Regions from separate parts of the Homo sapiens genome. Here regions 1 and 2 are each linked to region 3. The links are contacts of gene promoters, found by promoter capture Hi-C in blood cells and fetal thymus (Javierre and others, 2016). All regions are on one chromosome and are shown on one strand. The core of a region is centred on a gene start or on the middle of the fragment in contact, and the rest is flanking DNA. Distances in the headings are between cores, read along the strand shown.

Region 1 (3,365 bases), core at 360-2,859, 280 kb before region 3:
GGCACACGCCGTAGTCCTGGCTACTAGGGAGGCTGAGACAGGAGAACCGCTCGAACCTAGAAGGTGGAGGTTGCAGTGAGCCGAGATTGTGCTGCTGCACTCCAGCCTGGGCAACAGAGCAAGACTCTTATCTCAAAAAAAAAAAAAAAAAAAAAGAGTAGTTGTAAAGGTTAACTTTATCGGGATCCATTCAACCTATGTAAGAATTTAAGAGGTGAAGTTGTCCTTAAGATGCATTCAAATTCTAAGAGCTTTAGGATTTTATTTTAAAGTACACACGCAAATGGGGGCACTCACCTGGGACTTCTGAATGGCTTGGGGAGTTCCTTGGTGGAAGCCACTTGTGGCTGACTTAAGGCCCTGGGGAGGAATCCTGGGCAGAGCCTTGCAGGCTGGTGCCTCCTGGCCAAAAGTCACCTCTAGAGACTGCTTTTTTTGCTTCAGGGATGCTGCTGCTGTCACAGCCATTCCACATCATCTACGTTATAGACTCCACCTAATTTTTTTAAACTAGACCATCTGTCTGCCTAATTTACCTGTCTTGGCTCCAGATGACTTGACTGTTTTGCCAAAAATTAGGCCCCTCTTCAAACAACTCAGATGCATTATGATTTAAAAAGAACAATAATGGCAAATAATGTGTAACTTTGAAGACCATGGTTCTCAATTGATGTGATTTGTAGGTGGGACATGGTGGCTCACACCTGTAATCCCAGCACTTTGGGAGGCTGAGGCGGGCGGATCACCTGAGGTCAGGAGTTTGAGACCAGCCTGGCCAACATGGTGAGACCCCATCTTTACCAAAAACACAAAAATTAGCTGAGCGTGGTGGCATATGTCTGTTTCTGTAATCCCAGCTACTCAGGAGGCTGAGTCAGGAGAATCACTTGAACCCGGGAGGCGGAGGTTGCAGTGAGTCAAGATCGTGCCGTTGCACTCCAGCCTGGGTGACAGAGTGAGACTTTGTCTCAAAATTAAAAAAAAAAAAAAAAAAAAAAAAAGATTAGTCTTACCACATTTGTTTTGTTGTTCTTGTGGGGTATTTGTTTGTTTTGGAGATGGAGTCTCGCTTTGTCTACCAGGCTGGAGTGCAGGGGCACGATCTCGGCTCACTGCAAGCTCTACCTCCCAGGTTCACGCCATTCTCCTGCCTCAGCCTCCCGAGTAGCTGGGAGGACTACAGGCGCCTGCCACCACGCCTGGCTAATTTTTTGTATTTTTAGTAGAGACGGGGTTTCACCGTGTTAGCAAGGATGGTTTCGATCTCCTGACCTGCCCGCCTCCGCCTCTCAAAGTGCTGGGATTACAGGCGTGAGCCACCGTGCCCGGCCTGTGGGGTTTGTTTGTTTGTTTTAAGACAGGGTCTTTCTCTTTTACCCAGGCTGGAGTGCAGTGGTGTGATCACAGCTCACTGCAGCCTCCACCTCCCTGGCTCAAATGATCCTGCCACCTCAGCCTCCTGGGTAGCTGGGACTAATTTTTTCTAGGTATGGGGTTTTGTCATGTTGCCTAGGCTGGTCTCAAACTCGTGGCCTCAAGCAGTCTGTCTGCCTTGGCCTCCCAAAGTGCTGGGATTAGGTGTGAGCCACCGTGTCCAGCCCATTTTTTTTAAACACCTGTAAACTTTCTGTAGTCTGTCTTCGTATCTTTCCTGCTAGTATCTTTGTGCATTTTCTCAGTGATTTAATATTTGAATGCAAAGTTGTGGCATTGCATATAGACTGCCAAAATACAGTCCAAAGGTGAGGGTTAGGATGGTATTCTTTCACACTTGATCCTTGTTTTTGGTCACTCTTGGAATTTTCAGGGGTAGAAAATTTCATTCCCTTTGAGGTATGCTGGTAATAATAATGGACTCCAGTATGGAAGTGTTGGTTGGACTAAATATGCTAATCACCTATTTGTGTTACTAAAAATTGCCTCTCAACAGAGGAGACTTTAGCTTCATCTAAGTATTAGTGAGTTTTGTGGAGTTTAGCTAATTGTGAGATGGATTTCCTCTTAGAAGATGTACCTCATGTGCCAAATTGCTTGGAAACTTTTTTTTTTTAATACATTTTGATTGAGGCAGTGGCATGATCATAGCTGTTGCCCAGATAGGAGTGCAGTGGCATGATCATAGCTCACTGCAGCCTTGAACTCCTGGGCTCAAGCAGTCTTCCTGCTGCAGCCTCCCAAGTAGCTGGTACTATAGGCGTGTGCCACCATGCCCAGCTGATTCTTTTATTTTTTTGTAGAGACAGGATCCTACTATGTTGCTCAGGCTGGTCTTGAACTCCTGGGCTCAAGCAAGTCTCCCACCTCGGCCTCCCAAAGTGTTGACGTTACAGGTGTGAGCCACCATACTCGGCTTTTTTTTTTTTTTTTTTTTTTTTTGAGACAGGTTGTCACTGTGTTGCCCACACTGCAGTGCAGTGGTGTGATCATGGCTCACTGCAGCCTTGTCCCCCACCTGCCCCAAGCGATCCTCCCACCTCAGCCTTCCAAGTAGCTGGGACCACAGGCACACAACACCATGCCTGGCATATATATGTATACGTGTATATATATATATTTTTTAAGATGGAGTTCACTCTGTCTCCCAGGCTGGAGTGCAGTGGCATGTTCTGGGCTCACTGCAACCCCGGCCTCCCAGGTTCAAGTGATTCTCCTGCTTCAGCCTCGGGAGTAGTTGGGATTACAGGTGCCTGCCACCGTGCCGAGCTAATTTTTGTATTTTTAGTAGAGACGGGGTTTCACCATGTTGGCCAGGCTGGTCTGGAACTCATGACCTCAGGTTATCCACCCACCTCGACCTCCCAAAGTGCTGGGACTACAGACGTGAGCCACCATGCCTGGCCTTTTTTTTGTTGTTGTTCTTCTTCCCTGAGACGAAGTCTTCCTCTGTCACCCAGGCTGGAGTGCAGTGGTGCGATGGTGGCCCACTGCAACCTCCGTCTCCCGGGTTCAACCAGTTCTCCTGCCTCAGCCTCCTGAGAAGCTGGGATTACAGGTGCATACCACCATGCCCAGCTAGTTTTTGTATTTTTAGTAGAGACTGGGTTTCACCACGTTGGCCAGGGTGGTCTCGAACTCTAACCTCATGATCCACCCGCCTGGGCCTCCTAAAGTGCTGGGATTACAGGCGTTAGCCACTGTGCCCGGCCTGCCTGGCTAATTTTTATGTATTTTGTAGAGACGGGGTTTTGCCATGTTGCCCTGACTGGCTTTGAACTCCTAGGCTCGAGCAGTCCTCTGCTGTGGCCTCTCAAAGTGCTGGATTGCTGGTGTGAGCCATCACACCTGGCTATATTATTTGGAAACTCTTTTTTTTTTTGAGACTGAGTCTTGCTCTGTTGCCCAGGCTGGAGTGCAGTGGTGTGATC
Region 2 (3,340 bases), core at 132-2,631, 370 kb after region 3:
GCAGATAGCTAGAACCCAGGAGGTGGAGGCTGCAGTGAGCCGTGATTGGGATGCTACTGCACTCCAGCCTGGGCAACAGAGTGAGACCGTCTCAAAGAAAAAGAGTTCTTTCCCTGCCACTGCTGAGTTGAGTGGAGGCAGAGGCTTGGGTGCATTCAAGATTCAGCTTCACCCGTAGACCACCACCATGGCCACGGAAGGTGTTGCTGCTGGAGGTGTGGTGGCTGTTAATACTGCTTTACAAGAGGTGTTGAAGACTGTCCTCACCCATGATGGCCTAGCACGTGGAATTTGCAAAGCTGCTGAAGGGTCAGGCCCATCTTTTGTGTGTTTGCATCCAACTGTGATGAGCCTATGTCAAGTTCATAGAGGTTCTTTGTGCTGAACACCAAATCAACCTACTTAAGGTTGATGACAAGAAGCTAGGGGGAATGGTTAGGTCTCTGTAAAATTGACAGAGAGGGGAAACCCCGTAAAGTGGTTCGTTGCAGTTGTGTAGTAGTTGAAGTACTTCAAATGCAAGAAATGAACGAATAAAACTCTGGCTAACCCCCCTGCCCCCCAACACACACACAGACACACACACACACACACTCACAGTCACACTCACTCTGGGCATGTTGGCTCAATCCTGTAGTCCTAGCACTTTGGGAGGCCGAGGTGGGCAGATTGCTCGAGCCCAAGAGTTCAAGACCAGCCTGGGCAACATGAAATCCCATCTCTGCTAAAAATACAAAAAATGGCCAGGTGCAGTGGCTCGCGCCTGTAATCCCAGCACTTTGGGAGGCCGAGGTGGGCGGATCACGAGGTCGGGACATTGAGACCATCCTGGCTAACACAGTGAAACTCCATCTCTACTGAAAATACAAAAAAATTAGCTGGGCATGGTGGCGGGCACCTGTAGTCCCAGCTACTCGGGAGGCTGAGGCAGGAGAATGGCGTGAACCCGGAAGGCGGAGCTTGCAGTGAGCCAAGATCATGCCACTGCGCTCCAGCCTGGGCGACAGAGTGAGATTCCTTCTCAAAAAAAAAAAAAGAAAAAAAAAAAGAATACAAAAAATTAGCCAGGTGCTGTGGTCCCAAATACTTGGGAAGCTGAAGTGGGAGGATTGCTTGAGCCTGGGAGGTAGAGGCTGCAGTGAGCCATTATTGTGCCACTGCACACCAGCCTTGGTGACAGAGTGACACCTTGTCTCAAAAAAAATAAAAGAATTTTTACAAACACTTTTCTGCATCTATCGAGATGATCATGTGGTTTTTAAATTAATTTTTGTAGAGGTAGGGTCTTGCCATGTTGCCCATGCCAGTCAGGAGTATGTTTTTTTTTCTTTTGTTCAACTAATTTGGCATATTACTTTAATTGATTTTCATTTGTTGAATCATCCTTGCATTCTGGGAATAAAACTCACTTGGTCTTAATGTATCATCCTTTTAATATGCTGCTGAATTGTGTTAGTGTTTTGTTGATTTTTGCATCTATATTCATAAAGAATATTCTGTAGTTTTTTTGTTTTTTTGTTTGTTTGAGATGGAGTCTTGCTCTGTCGCTCAGGCAGGAATGCAGTGGTGTGACCTCGGCTCACTGCAACCTCTGCCTCCCCAGTTCAAGCGATTCTTCTGCTTCAGCCTCCCGAGTAGCTGGGACTACAAGTGCGCACCACCATGCCCGGCTAATTTTTTTGTATTTTTAGTAGAGATGGGGTTTCACCATATTGGCCAGGCTGGTCTCGAACTCCTGACCTCGTGATCCACCCACCTTAGCCTCCCAGGTGTAAGCCACTGTGCCTAGCCTTTTCTTTTCTTATAGTATCTTTTTCTGGCTTTGTGTCAGAGTAAATTCTGGCCTCATAATGAGTTAGGAAGTGTTTCCTTTTCTTTAATCTTTTTAAGAGTTTCAAAAGAATCGAAACTCTTTTTTCTTTGTTTTGTTTTGAGATGGAGTCTCGCTCTGTCGCCAGGCTGGAGTGCAGTGGCGCGATCTCAGCTCACTGCAACCTCCACCTCCCGGGTTCACGCCATTCTCCTGCCTCAGCCTCTCGAGTAGCTGGGATTACAGGCACTCACCACTATGCCCAGCTAATTTTTGTATTTTTAGTAGAGACGGGGTTTCACCATGTTGGCCAGGATGGTTTCTATCTCCTGACCTTGTGATCCTCCCGCCTCGGCCTCCCAAAGTGCTGGGATTACAGGCGTGAGCCACTGTGCCCGGCTGAAACTCTTCTTCTGTAAATGTTTTTTGTTGTTGTTGTTGTTGTTGTTGTTGTTTGAGTCGGAGTCTCACCCTGTTGCCCAGTCTGGAGTGCAATGGCATGATCTCAGCTCACTGCAACTTCCGCCTCCCAGGTTCAAGCAATTCTCCTGCCTCAGCTTCCTGAGTAGCTGGGATTACAGGCATCTACCACACGCCCAGCTAATTTTTGTGTTTTTAGTAGAGACGGGGTTTCACCATGCTGGCCAGGCTGGTCTCGAACTCCTGACCTCAGGTGATCTACCCGCCTTGGCCTCCCAAAGTGCTGGGATTACAGGCATGAGGCACCGTGCCCGGCACACTTTTGTAAATGTTTGGTCAAAGTTCTTGTGATCAGGAGAGATGAATGAGGTATATTTTGGAGCTCACGAAAGTGCTTCAAGGAACTAGAAGGATTTCTGGAGCACTGCAAGTTTCTGTAAAGCACAATCTGAAAGTACCACTGAATTCATCCACTCACAAAAGCTCCCATAGTGTGTGTTGGCCTCTTGCTTTGTTCCTGGGATGCTTTCTTATGATTTTTATGCTGCTGTACCTGTAATCACATGTTCTATACCTTCAAGTCTGTTTTGGAGGATTCAGTTGTGGAGATTGGGAACCCCCAGAAAGAGTATTTTGATATTTTCAGTATTTAAAATACTTTGCACACACTGTAATCTTTAAATCACCTCTGAAAACTAGGTGAGTGATCTCAAATAATAAACAAGCTTAAGTCAGAAAAATTTTGCTTAACCAAAGGATTTCTGGATTTTGTTTTGTTTTGACCCCTATAGTGAGGGTGCATTTTGTACAGATTGACTCTTCCTTTGTTTTTCTTTTTTTATCTGCTTAAAAGGAAGGTATTAGTTAGTGTTCATAGAGACTACATGCAGATTTTTCCCTTCTAAGTAGGTTAGGTCCTTTTACTTGAAGTTGTACAACAGAGGCCAAGAATAATTCCTTATAGGCAAAAAGATGAGAGTTGTTGTTGTTGTTGTTGTTTGAGTCGGAGTCTCACTATTTCGTTATTGTGTTTTTGACTCTTGGGGCATCTGAATGCTTTAGCCAGTACTGCAAAACTGACCAGTGGTGACTCTTCTTTTGTGCAGTGAC
Region 3 (3,306 bases), core at 640-3,139:
TGTCTTTTGTGGGAATATGCATGGAGCTGGGGGCCATTATCCTTAGCAAACTAATGCAGGAACAGAAAACCAAATACCACATATTCTCACAAGTGTGAGTTAAATGATGAGAACTCATGAACACAAAGAAGACAACAACAGACACTGGGGTCTAATTGCGGGGGGCGGGAGGAGGGAGAGGAACAGAAAAGATAACTATTGGGTACTGGGCTTAATACCTGGGTGATGAAATAATCTGTACAACAAATCGCGGTGACACGAGTTCACCTATGTAGTAAACCTTCACACGTACCCCCGAACCTAAAGTAAAAGTTTAAAAAAAATTGGGAGAAGGAAGAACTCGGCAAAGGAGGGCTAGTTTGCAGGTAATTCACCTGGAGAACTGCCTGGCCCCTCCCTGGCTTTCCACAACATTTTGTGTTCTTTAAAACATTTTCCCCCAGCCAGGCGCCGTGATCCTAGCTCACGCCTGTAATCCTAGCACTTTGGGAGGCCGAGGCGAGCAGATTGCCTGAGCTCACGAGTTCGAGACCAGCCTGAGAAACATGGCGAAACCCCGTCTCTACTAAATACAAAATACATATATATATATATATATATATATATATATATATATTAGCCGGGCATGGTGGCATGCGCCTGTAGTCCCAGCTACTCCGGAGGCTGAGGCAGGAGAATTGCTTGAACCCAGGAGGCGGAGGTTGCGGTGAGCCGAGATCTCACCATTGCACTCCAGTCTGGCGACACAGTGAGACTCCTTTACAAAAAAAAAAAAAAAAAAAAAAAAAAAAGATTCCCTCAAATAAGTTGAGGTGGGGGGAGGTGTATTGTTACAATGCAAATCCTTTCCCATAAAATCCTTTAATAGCTCTCAGTGGCCTGCAGAATAAAACCCCAAATCCTTAACATGTCCCAGTTTGGTATTTTCCTACGCTTGGCCCTACCCGGGCCACCCCTTTCCAGGCTCTTTAATGGCGGAGCCTAGCTCTTTTCTGCCATGTGGCCTTACAGACTGGTTCCTGGGACAAGAATTGGCTACTTCTCCCTACCCAAGCTTTCGTTCGTTTTTTTATTCCTGGCCCCCACCACCTCCCCCCCATTTCTCTGCTCTCCTGTTAATTCCTTTGGAGCGATTACTATTTGTGAGTAGACATCCATTCGCGTGCATTCAGATCTATTATCCAAAAGACAGACGCTTATCCGTCTAGGTAGTCAGGCTCCAAGAGAGGAGCCCAGTCGGTCTGACTCCCGCAAACTCCCGGCACCGTGTCAGCCACATAGTAGGCGTCTACTGGAGACTTTGTTTAGATCAGTTAGTCAACGCAGGCAGCAGCTGAATCAGGAGAGAGTCCCCAACGCAAAGAAAGGGGCTCCTGAGACCCTTCGGGGCGCCGAGGCCCAGGTTTCGTCTCCCTCTGCTGCAGCAATGCCGTCGACTCAAAGGGGCTCGGGGCTGGGGAACTGGTTCTGGCAAACAGCACAACCTCGCCCGAATCCTGGTCCGCAGTAACTCGATCTTTCCCTTAGGCGGCGCTTCGGAGGGAAGGCGCCTAGTTCAGCGCGAGGCATCACGGGATTTGTAGTCTCCGTGGGCATATACCCACCGCGCTTGCGCACCGGTGAGGCGCGCACCGCCCCGCTCCACGCCCCTATCAGGATTCGGGTCCTCGTGAGGAGCAGTCCAGGCGACAGCGTTCCAACCTAATACGCCTCTCTCGCCCGCCGGGGACAAGACGGGCTGGGGAAAGAATCTGCTCTTCGGAGGCTATCGCAGTGCCTTGGAAGGCGGCAGGAATCCGCACACACCCGCCCCGGAAGTGAGCCGCTTCTGGCGCGGGGCATTGTGGGGGGCGTAGTCTCTTTCTCAGGCGGTCCTTCGCGGCGTCCCCGGGGCCCACTCCCGAGCGCAGGCGGGCAGCCAGGCGGGCGGCGCGGCGCGGGCCGGCAGGAAGCGTATTCTGGGCACGGGGCGCCGGGCGGGCCGGCTGCGCCGAGCGGCAGTGGTGGGATACCACCCAAGGCCTCGCGCGGCGCCGCCCGTCGAGGGGCGGGCGGCGGCGTAGCCACTGGGCCGTCGAAGAGCGCAGGAGGCCGGTGGGCCGGGCCGGGCCGCGCGGCGCAGCCATGCCTGGCTTTACGTGCTGCGTGCCAGGCTGCTACAACAACTCGCACCGGGACAAGGCGCTGCACTTCTACACGTTTCCAAAGGACGCTGAGTTGCGGCGCCTCTGGCTCAAGAACGTGTCGCGTGCCGGCGTCAGTGGGTGCTTCTCCACCTTCCAGCCCACCACAGGCCACCGTCTCTGCAGCGTTCACTTCCAGGGCGGCCGCAAGACCTACACGGTACGCGTCCCCACCATCTTCCCGCTGCGCGGCGTCAATGAGCGCAAAGTAGCGCGCAGACCCGCTGGGGCCGCGGCCGCCCGCCGCAGGCAGCAGCAGCAACAGCAGCAGCAGCAGCAACAGCAGCAACAGCAGCAGCAGCAGCAACAGCAGCAGCAGCAGCAGCAGCAGCAGCAGTCCTCACCCTCTGCCTCCACTGCCCAGACTGCCCAGCTGCAGCCGAACCTGGTATCTGCTTCCGCGGCCGTGCTTCTCACCCTTCAGGCCACTGTAGACAGCAGTCAGGCTCCGGGATCCGTACAGCCGGCGCCCATCACTCCCACTGGAGAAGACGTGAAGCCCATCGATCTCACAGTGCAAGTGGAGTTTGCAGCCGCAGAGGGCGCAGCCGCTGCGGCCGCCGCGTCGGAGTTACAGGCTGCTACCGCAGGGCTGGAGGCTGCCGAGTGCCCTATGGGCCCCCAGTTGGTGGTGGTAGGGGAAGAGGGCTTCCCTGATACTGGCTCCGACCATTCGTACTCCTTGTCGTCAGGCACCACGGAGGAGGAGCTCCTGCGCAAGCTGAATGAGCAGCGGGACATCCTGGCTCTGATGGAAGTGAAGATGAAAGAGATGAAAGGCAGCATTCGCCACCTGCGTCTCACTGAGGCCAAGCTGCGCGAAGAACTGCGTGAGAAGGATCGGCTGCTTGCCATGGCTGTCATCCGCAAGAAGCACGGAATGTGAACTGGTGCCCCGGCAGCCTGCTGGACTCCCAGACCCCATCCAGCCAGGGGACCGCAGGCCATTGTTGAACTCCTCTATACTCCTGGGCACTGGTTGACAGTACTGAGGCTTAAGGCAGCTGGACTCTCTTGCTGGTGACCTGGCATCCTCAATTGTTTCCTCCTGAAGTGGAAGCTGGGGCCTTAGACTCTGCCCTGGTGACACCAGCAATTATGACTTTGTCTACCCTTCCTCCCC

The links. The method cuts DNA at HindIII sites, captures the fragments that hold promoters and counts their contacts. A CHiCAGO score of 5 or more calls a contact.
Region 1: a fragment that was not itself captured here is called in contact with the fragment with the promoter of THAP11 in region 3 in 1 of 17 cell types (naive CD8 T cells); the score reaches 5.3 in naive CD8 T cells.
Region 2: a fragment that was not itself captured here is called in contact with the fragment with the promoter of THAP11 in region 3 in 2 of 17 cell types (naive CD4 T cells and total CD4 T cells); the score reaches 5.5 in naive CD4 T cells.

Annotation. Positions count from the first base shown.
Region 1 is chr16:67,565,540-67,568,904 of GRCh38, forward strand. All of the region lies in intron 1 of CTCF (CCCTC-binding factor), which reads left to right. Among named protein-coding and RNA genes, the nearest start is that of CTCF, 4.7 kb to the left of the region's middle. The HindIII fragment of the contact is 4,800 bases long and covers 1-3,365 here.
Region 2 is chr16:68,209,275-68,212,614 of GRCh38, forward strand. The region is part of intron 9 of NFATC3 (nuclear factor of activated T cells 3); the gene reads left to right. It also overlaps the pseudogene RPS12P27. Among named protein-coding and RNA genes, the nearest start is that of MIR6773, 23 kb to the right of the region's middle. RefSeq lists an enhancer at 1,870-1,939. The HindIII fragment of the contact is 3,143 bases long and covers 1-2,953 here.
Region 3 is chr16:67,840,431-67,843,736 of GRCh38, forward strand. It overlaps THAP11 (THAP domain containing 11), which reads left to right and starts at 1,890. Exons shown (of 1, transcript NM_020457.3): 1 at 1,890-3,306. The coding sequence starts at 2,125. The coding sequence ends at 3,069. All of the region lies in intron 1 of CENPT (centromere protein T), which reads right to left. RefSeq lists enhancers at 1,604-1,653, 2,106-2,852, 2,564-2,723, 3,164-3,213 and a silencer at 1,904-2,083. The HindIII fragment of the contact is 11,152 bases long and covers 1,053-3,306 here.